Linked DNA regions of Homo sapiens: region 1 is linked to region 2. The links are contacts of gene promoters, found by promoter capture Hi-C in blood cells and fetal thymus (Javierre and others, 2016). All regions are on one chromosome and are shown on one strand. Each heading gives the region's core, a stretch centred on a gene start or on the middle of the fragment in contact. The rest is flanking DNA. Distances are from core to core; before and after follow the strand shown.

Region 1 (4,638 bases), core at 886-3,385, 270 kb after region 2:
GCTCTGCTTGAATCAAGCTTGAGAAGGTAGGAACCCCACTAGCTCGCCCACTCCTTCCTTCTGCCCTTCCCACCCCCCCATAGGGGTGAGGCTCACAGAGGGAAAGGGACTTCCCACGAGTGCACTAGGGAATGACGTAAGTGTCAGAGCCAGGATGGGCCCAAGTCTCCTACCTTCCATATCACTGTGCTTTGCAAGACAGCCTACTGTCACTGAAGCCACCAACGTAACACAATGCAAAATACACTGCAAGAAACTCCTCCTATCACAAAAGACTTCCAAGTCCTAGACTAGGGTCTGCCTTGGGTCCCTTGAGATTCAAGAAGCTGAGGAATGATCAGCAATGGATACAAACAACCAAAACAGTTCATCAAAGCCCAATTCAAAGGCCTTCACCCAGCATAATTTTTTCCTTTCTTCTTTCAGATCTGAATGCATATGCTTCCCAAAGAAATTTTTACAAGAGAAACTTAAACCGCTACTGCCAGGAGCACTGGCCATTCCAGCCATGCCTCACTGGGAGGCCCTGAGCATTCTAGCCGGCGGCTGCACAGCTGCTGGGGCATCTCCATGAGGAAGAGGGCGGTGGACAGGAGTCATGAAGACTAATTCGGAAACTCCCCTGAAGGAGGAGAAGACATCTGAGCCATCCTTGTGCCACCAAGCAAGAGTCACTCCAGCTCCTAAAAAGCCACCATGGGAAGAGCTGCCTCCAATTAAAGTTCTTGATTGCACCAGAGGATGTGTCCTTCTCTTTTCCTTTCCCCCTTACCAACTAATGTCTTATTATTTTTAAATATATTGTCACATCTAACTAAGCTTAAAAAATTTAGCCTATTGGCTGGGCGCAGTGGCTCACGCCTGTAATCCCAACACTTTGGGAGACCGAGGCAGGTGGATCACATGAGGTCATAAGTTCAAGACCAGCCTGGCCAATGCGGTGAAACCCCATCTGTGCTAAAAATAAAAAAATCTGCCAGGTGTGGTGGCGTGCTCCTGTAATCTCAGCTACTAGGGAGGCTGAGGCAGGAGAATCACTTGAACCCAGGAGGCAGAGGTTGCAATGAGCTGAGATCTCGCCGCTGCACTCCAGCCTGGGTAACAGAGTGAGACTCCGTGAAAGAAAGAAAGGAAGGGAAGGGGGAAGGGGGAAGGGAAGAAAGAAAAAAGAGAGAGAGAGGAAGGAGAAAACAGCTTTTTGGATACCTTCTGAAATAATTCCAAATTTACAGAAATGTCACAAGAATAATACAGAGAACTCCCATTTACCTTTTACCCAGAGTCACCAATTGTTTAATCTACATTTTCCCCATTTGCACCATTTCAGCTCACTGCAACCTCCGCCTCCTGAGTTCAAGTGATTGAACTCAGTTCAATCCTGCCTCAGCCTCCCGAGTAGCTGGGATTACAAGTGCCTGCCACCAGGCCTGGCTAATTTTTGTATTTTTAGTAGAGATGGGGTTTCACCATGTTGGCCAGGCTGGTCTCGAACTCCTGACCTCAGGTGATCCGCCCTCCTCAACCTCCCAAAGTGCGGGATTACAGGCGTGAGCCACTGTGCCAGGCCAAGGTATATCTTTATTAACAGCATGAGAACGGATTAATACGGTGTATCTTTAGGGTTAATTTTTCAGCATGGACTTTTGAGCCAAATGGAAAAGATATATACAGTTTTGTTAGATGCTGCCAAGTTCTGTTCTGTAAGAGTATATGATATCTGAGATACCTGTTTCCTCATGCCCTCAGCAACTGTTTAGGCTCTCCCAATCCTACAGGTGAGAAACGGTATCTCATTTTGGTTTTAACCTGCATTTCCCTTACCATGAGTGAAGACTAACATCTATTCATATGTTTAAGGGTCATTTTTATATGTTTTTATTAATGATCTGTTTATGTCTTCCACTCTTTTTTCTTTTTCCTGTTTCCTGTTAATTTTTGAGTGCTCTTTATATACTAGAAATACTAGCTCCTCAAAGTCAAGTTTATTAATGTTTCATTGAATCTGGACTTTGGGTTGTCGTTAGCCTTTCCCTACATCCAGTTTATAGAGGAATTCACCCACACTTCTTCGTTTGCTTGTATAGCATTATACATCAGAAATATAACCTATTCCATTTGGCATTTATTATTATGTATTTAGGAAGTATGGATCTAACTTTACACTTTCTCCAAATGATTATATAGTCATTTCAGCATATTTATTAAGGAGAATATCTTTGGTCCAATCATCCATCTGAGATGACACCTTTATTATCATACACTAAATTTTCATATATATTTGTGTCTCTTTCTGAACTTTCTATTCTACTCCACTGGGGAGTCTGCCTGTTTTTTTGTTTGTTTGTTTGTTTGTTTGTTTGTTTGTTTGTTTTTTGAGACGGAGTCTCACTGTCGCCCAATGCCTGTTTTATTCTTGCTTGTTTTTTCATGTAAATGTTAGGATCAATTTGTCTAGCTTCAGAAAAAATCTTGATGTTATTTTCATCATGATTGTGCTAAATTTACAAATTAGGGAAAATTATAAATCAGGAAGAACTGACACATCTATAACATTGATTCTTCCTAACCACCAACCAATGTCTTTTCATTTGTTCAAACCTACTTTGTTGGCTTTCAGGACTATTTTCAAGAGTTCTTTATATTAATTTTGCAAATTTCTTATTAACTTTACTCCTAGGTATTTTATCTTTTGTTGCTATTGTAAATGAAGTTTTCTCTCTCACTATTGTTGTAGTTAGTTATTGCTTGCGTATAATAACACTATTGAGTTCAGTATGCTAATTGTATGCCTTGCTTCCCTTCTGAATTCTTTCATTGTTTGAGTAGTTTTGTTTTTGCTTTCCGATGGTTTACCAGTAATACTATTATGTAATCTGCAAGTAGAAATACTTTAACTTCTTCTTCTTCTAATTTTTATGTCTCCAATTTACCTTTTCTGATTGCAATGGTTAATGCCACCGCTACAATGTTAAAGTCAGTAGATATCTGTGCTTCGTTCCTGATTTTAAATAGCTCCAGTATTTGCAAATTAAGGAAGAAGTTGGGTTTAGGACAAAGGCATAGAGGTAGAGATAAAGAGAGAGAGAGAGAGTGCCATTTTATCATATTAATATAATATCCATCAATTCCCTCTTTTTTCTTTTTTCAGCATCTATAAAAAAAATCACAATTTCTTTACTCATATCGAATCAAACTTCCATTCCACAGATAAATTTCACCTGATCATGATTTATTATCTTCATACTGTGAGGTTGGATTCTGTTCACTAATATTTTATTAAGAATTTTTGTATCAGTATTGGTAGGTAACGTTGCCTTGTAATTTTCTTTTTGATTATCCCTATCACATGCGGTTATCAATATACACTTGCTTCACAAAAAGAATTTGGAAGTTTTATTTTATATGCTCTAGAACAATTTATGTAGTACTGTAACTGGTCTTTAAAAGCTTGGTGAAACTCTCCTTGTGCAACCTTCTGGACCTGTTGCCTGTTTGGGGGAGGGTAGTTTCTTAATAAATTTCTTCTACAGAAATTGATAGTTTCTATCTTTAATGCAGTCAATTTAATAAACTATTTTCCCAGAAAACTATCTACTTCATAGTTTTTCAAACTTTTTTACATAAAAGTATATTATGGACTCTAAAGATTTTTAAAATTTCTTTTGTTTCAACAATTTTTCCCCCTTATTCTTTCTAATTTTATATATTTTTGCTTTCTCCTTTTTTTCCTGATTAAGCTACACAGTATTTCTATTTTGTTAATTTTTTTCAAAAAAAGATTTTGATTAATTAGATCTGCTTTTTAATACTCTAGTAAATTCTGCTTTTAATCTTATACTTTCTTTTCCTTACTTTGTTGCTCTTTTTCCAGCTTTAAGAATTGGGAAATTATTTCATTCTTTTATTTTCTTGATACAAGTGTTTAAACACAGTGGTAGACAGAATAATGACCCCACTGCAAAAGATTAAAGTTGAAGATACAATTAAGGTTGCTAATCAGTGACCTTGAGATAATTCACAATTACCTGGGTGGGCCCCATCTAATCACATTGGGAGAATCTGCAGCCCACTCTGGGGCATGTTTCTGCCACAACAGCACAGAGGCCAGGACAGGAGAGGAGGTGGCAGCAGTCGGGAATTCACCAACATCCCCTTCCTGGGGAGAAGGAACTAAATTGTCATATGACTTGCTTGGCCAATGAAAACATAACAGATAGGACACTAACAGGGGCTTAGAAATGTGTTTTCACAGTGGGGCTTGCTGTGTCTTCCTCTAGCAGCCCCAGAAGAAGAACACACCTGGCTAGCCTACTAACCCAAAAGGGGTAAGAGACATGTGAGGCAGAACCACTCCAGCCGACCTGATAGGCACAGTGGACATTACAGCATGGTGGACAAAGGAATGGACTGCTGGAGAGGGGCTCAGCATATGTCCTCCCTCCTCCCTGCCTTTGTGGTTCAGTCCAAACCCCACTGTCCCCAACATTCCCCGGTTCCCCCACTCTGTGACATCACAGACAGCCTCCTGTCCACTCTGCCAGCTGCAGGTGAATGAGACTCATAGGTTAGACCTAAGGGTAAGAGGGCGTAATTTTTCTGTACTAAAACAGAAAATGTCCCCGCCACTCCTGGACACCT
Region 2 (4,210 bases), core at 1,192-3,691:
TAAAGGCTCCTTCCATCTGCACATCGTACAGCTTGAGTAGAAGACAGAAAGAAGCCAGTTAGCACAGGTCATGGATTTCTATGTTGGCCAGGCTAGATTCTAGAACAGCTGGAAAGCAGAGAGGGGCTTAGAGCAATGGGGGTGGGAAATAGGGAGCCACTGAAGGTTTGTGAGTAGAGGAGTGTCACAGCAAAAGAATGAATTGAGCCCACAAACTACTGTACTAGGAACTGATCCGAAAATCTCAACTGCTCAGAAAGTTGAGTAAAAACAAAGGGTGATTTTTCCCCCTTGTCAGCCTTCCCTCCCAGGACATTGTATTGTATGCAAAACGGGTAACTGTAAGACAAACATTTTTTTCCACTGCCCTTCTCAGCCCCACAGGCCTTCAGGAAGACCCGAACTTCAAGCAAAGCCTTTTTATTTTTCAACACCCACAGCTTCCATTCAACAATCAGAAGTTTTCCACTTTGATCAAAGAGGCTGAACAAGAGGGCCAAGGGAGCAGCTGGTTCTCAGCAACTCTGGGCAGACCACAGAGCCCTTGCTACCCACTCACTGTCCGTGCCCACCAGAGGACACAGCCTTCTCCCCAAATCAGCCAGGTACATGCCCCAGAAAACACTGGCTTGCCTCGTTCCCACCTTAATTACCGGACCAAACGAACGTGAACACACTGTTTTCAAAACCAAACTCAATTGGGATCACGGGGGCCTCGGTTTCCTTGATTGTAAAATGGGTATATCGCCCCCCACTCTATTTAGCCCAAGAAAACAATTTATCTCTTGATGTCTCTTTCGTCTCCAGGATCTATGCTTTTACAGACTCACTGGGAGGAAATATCCAGACCAAATCCTAAAGCCTGATCTAATTTGGGAGATGCTCAGAAGTTTTGGTTCTATGCAAGAACAGCAGTGGTAATAATCCAAGCTTGGCTTTAGACACAGGACGTTTCCTTAGGGGCATCTGGGATCTCTGCTGGCTCAAAGTGATGCGCTGCAGACAAAAAGTGAGCAGAAAGGAAAGGAGGTGCTATGCAGAATGAGCTTCTTCCACGGTGATACCAAATGGAGCTTTCAAAGGCCCACATCTGGAGGCAGCAGCTATGCAGTGATTAACATTTTAAACGGTATTTTGAAATGGAGATCATTAGTAACCACAGATGTGATCTGACTCTGTCCCCCAGGTAATCTGTCTATTGTATCTAAATTCCAGACTTAGCCCAGTAGACAGCTTGGGATGTTTAACAGGAATTGTCCAACACCATCCCCAAATCTATTTTTATTCATGGAGTACTCTGACATCATCTCGCTTGGTCTTCCTGATGACTGTAATGCAGATTGGGAACAGAGAAAGCCATAAAGACTTGTATGATGGCCCAAGGCTAAGAAGGGAAAGGGCTGAGACCACACTTCAGGTTTTAGCTTTCAGGTGCAGTGAAGATTGAATGACTTAGCACGAGCTTTCAGCCAGGCAGGCTGCAAAGTGCACCCAAGTTCTTTCAGTGATCGACACTTGCGACTTAGGTTGAGATAGTTTTCATCCTCCCTGAGCCTCAGTTTTCCCATCTGTAAAAAATAAACATTGCCTGCCTCGGAGGGTGGAGGTGGAAGTGGAATGAAGCCACATGTAACTCCTAGCGCTGTGCCTGAGACAGTAGAGGTTCAATTATAGTAGTCACATACACACACAACACATACATACACAAGACACAACACACCACACACAACACATACATACACACCACACACAACACTTACATACGCACCACACTCGGCATGCATTGCAGATCACAAATGCACACCACACACACACTGCATACATATACCATAGAGAACACACAACACCTACACATACCCCCATACCACAAATACACACACACTACATAGTACACCACGCAGAACACACACAGCCCCCATATTCCACACCACACCATCTCACTGCCAATTCCTTCCCCTCTTCATGAGTTTTACGGCAGGTCCAGGTTCATCTGCCAGTTTAACAGATCCCAAAACTTCTGCAGGAGTGTTTGTTCAAAAGATTGATATTTCCAGATTCCTGCTTTCTGACAGTATCTTTGAACCCCAAATTTCATACTGCCATGAGCCAGTCCCCCTTTGGAGAAATATCTCCATTTGTGTGCCCTTTTTCCCCCAGGGAACCTGCAGCATGTCCCTTTTTCAGCAGTAGCCTATCAAACCGAACCCTTTGGAGTTATTACACTGCAGTCCGAGGGATCCGGCCTCCCTGAGACCCAGCAAGGACTCATTATCTGGGGAGGTCTTCTGAGCCACAGGCCTCGCTGAAAGAAGGTGCAGCTTCTTGAACAGGAAGGCGTTTTGTGGCAGAGTCTAAACGAAACAGAAGTTGCTTTGTGTGTGCGCACGCATGCACACACACACACACACACACACACATACACACACACAGTCGGGGAACCGTCATTTTCCTACGCGCCCTCTGACATCAGCCACCTTCTCTGTAGCTAGTTTCTCTGCACACAACTTAATCCCTGGCAATGAAAAATGAACCTCTCCCCCACCCTTGCTGCCGCCTCTCGCCTCACGCCCCCAGAGAAGAGTTTCTCCACCAGGCAGCAGGTGAAGGTTTTTTTCCAAGTCACATGATTCAGGATTCAGGGGGAGAATCCTTCTTGGAACAGAGATGGGCCCAGAACTGAATCAGATGAAGAGAGATAAGGTGTGATGTGGGGAAGACTATATAAAGAATGGACCCAGGGCTGCAGCAAGCACTCAACGGAATGGCCCCTCCTGGAGACACAGCCATGCATGTGCCGGCGGGCTCCGTGGCCAGCCACCTGGGGACCACGAGCCGCAGCTATTTCTATTTGACCACAGCCACTCTGGCTCTGTGCCTTGTCTTCACGGTGGCCACTATTATGGTGTTGGTCGTTCAGAGGACGGTAAGTGGACTCCTCTTCCTCCCTTTCCTTTTCTTGTTGTTTTCCCGAGAGAAAGAGCCCTGGGAACAAATGATATTCGTTTGTTGGTTAAGAGCACAAAATAAAATTAAATAAATAAACTCTCTCTCTCTATATATATATATATACTATAGTATATACTGTATAACGTAATACACTTATGTTACATAATATATATTATATTATACAGTATATATTATATATATATATATATATGAGAAAGGGAGAAAAGAAAGAGGAACTTAACTCTCTAAAATAATTTGGCTTGTTGAGAAAAATATTGTTAGACCATCATCTTAAAACTTTGCAGATCTGTCTGAGCAAAACAGTGGAGGGGAGCTATTGGCCTTTTAAAGTTAAGATTTAAATCTTAATGAGCCAGAGACCCATATCAAGGAAGGAAGCAATAGAGAAACCTGATAACACATTTGCACAAGTTGTTATCATGTCTTCAAGGACTTCAGACTGGATTCTGAGGTTCTATATCCTAAGTCTGAGTGTCCTGGAGGTTTCTGAGGCCTCACCCATTGCCAAGAGTTTTGTTTTTGCTTTTGTTTTATACAAGGAGCTAAGTTTCAGAGGCCAAGGTCTAGAAGGAAAGGAGGCGAAAGAGAAGACCATGGCTTCTTAGAGCTTTGGACATTTTGGTGTTAAAGCCAGCAAGACAAATCGAAAGCTTCCTCTTAAGCCACAACTTTGAAGAAGTTAGGGCGTCACAAAAAAAAAAAAAAAAGAAACAGCACATAGAAGCAGAAAGTTGAAAGGTTTTTAGCACCTGTTCTCTCTGATGTTCCTCACAATACTAAGCAATCGTTGGGTACACACTGTACAGGGTCAGACTGTCTTCGGAGATTTACTTTGAAGTAAATGGTAAGATTTGTTTCTGAAAACAGAAGAGGAGGAGAAAGAGGAAGCTTCTTCATATTTTAGAAAATTGGTGTTTACAGAGAATCTACCAGTATATATTATATAGAAAATGCTGTAGTAATAGCATATATTGCTCATGAATTTTTTGATGAAGTTGTTAATGGGTAATTTAAGAGCTGCACCCACCCACATGACCTGCCAAAGTGAGAATATTTCTGTTTCTTACTTCATAGTGCCTACTTTTCGTGGTATTATAATCCTGCTGAATTTATTCTGGTTTTTCTTCAGTTTTCTTAGGCCAAGTACTCTATAGCTTATCAATTGCTGGAAAGAACTAGGCTTTAAAAGGCTTTGATATCTATTTCTCAAGTGTCATCAAGCTTTGAAATTAAATGGAAGCTT

The links. The method cuts DNA at HindIII sites, captures the fragments that hold promoters and counts their contacts. A CHiCAGO score of 5 or more calls a contact.
Region 1: a contact is called between a fragment that was not itself captured here and the fragment with the promoter of TNFSF8 in region 2, in 8 of 17 cell types (M1 macrophages, M2 macrophages, M0 macrophages and 5 more). The highest score is 8.1, in M1 macrophages.

What each region holds. Positions count from the first base shown.
Region 1 is chr9:114,662,535-114,667,172 of GRCh38, reverse strand. It overlaps TEX48 (testis expressed 48), which reads left to right. Exons shown (of 5, transcript NM_001199233.2): 5 at 427-739. The coding sequence ends at 530. Among named protein-coding and RNA genes, the nearest start is that of TEX53, 7.0 kb to the right of the region's middle. The HindIII fragment of the contact is 2,628 bases long and covers 822-3,449 here.
Region 2 is chr9:114,928,822-114,933,031 of GRCh38, reverse strand. It overlaps TNFSF8 (TNF superfamily member 8), which reads left to right and starts at 2,441. Exons shown (of 4, transcript NM_001244.4): 1 at 2,441-2,923. The coding sequence starts at 2,729. RefSeq lists an enhancer at 2,788-3,347. The HindIII fragment of the contact is 2,687 bases long and covers 933-3,619 here.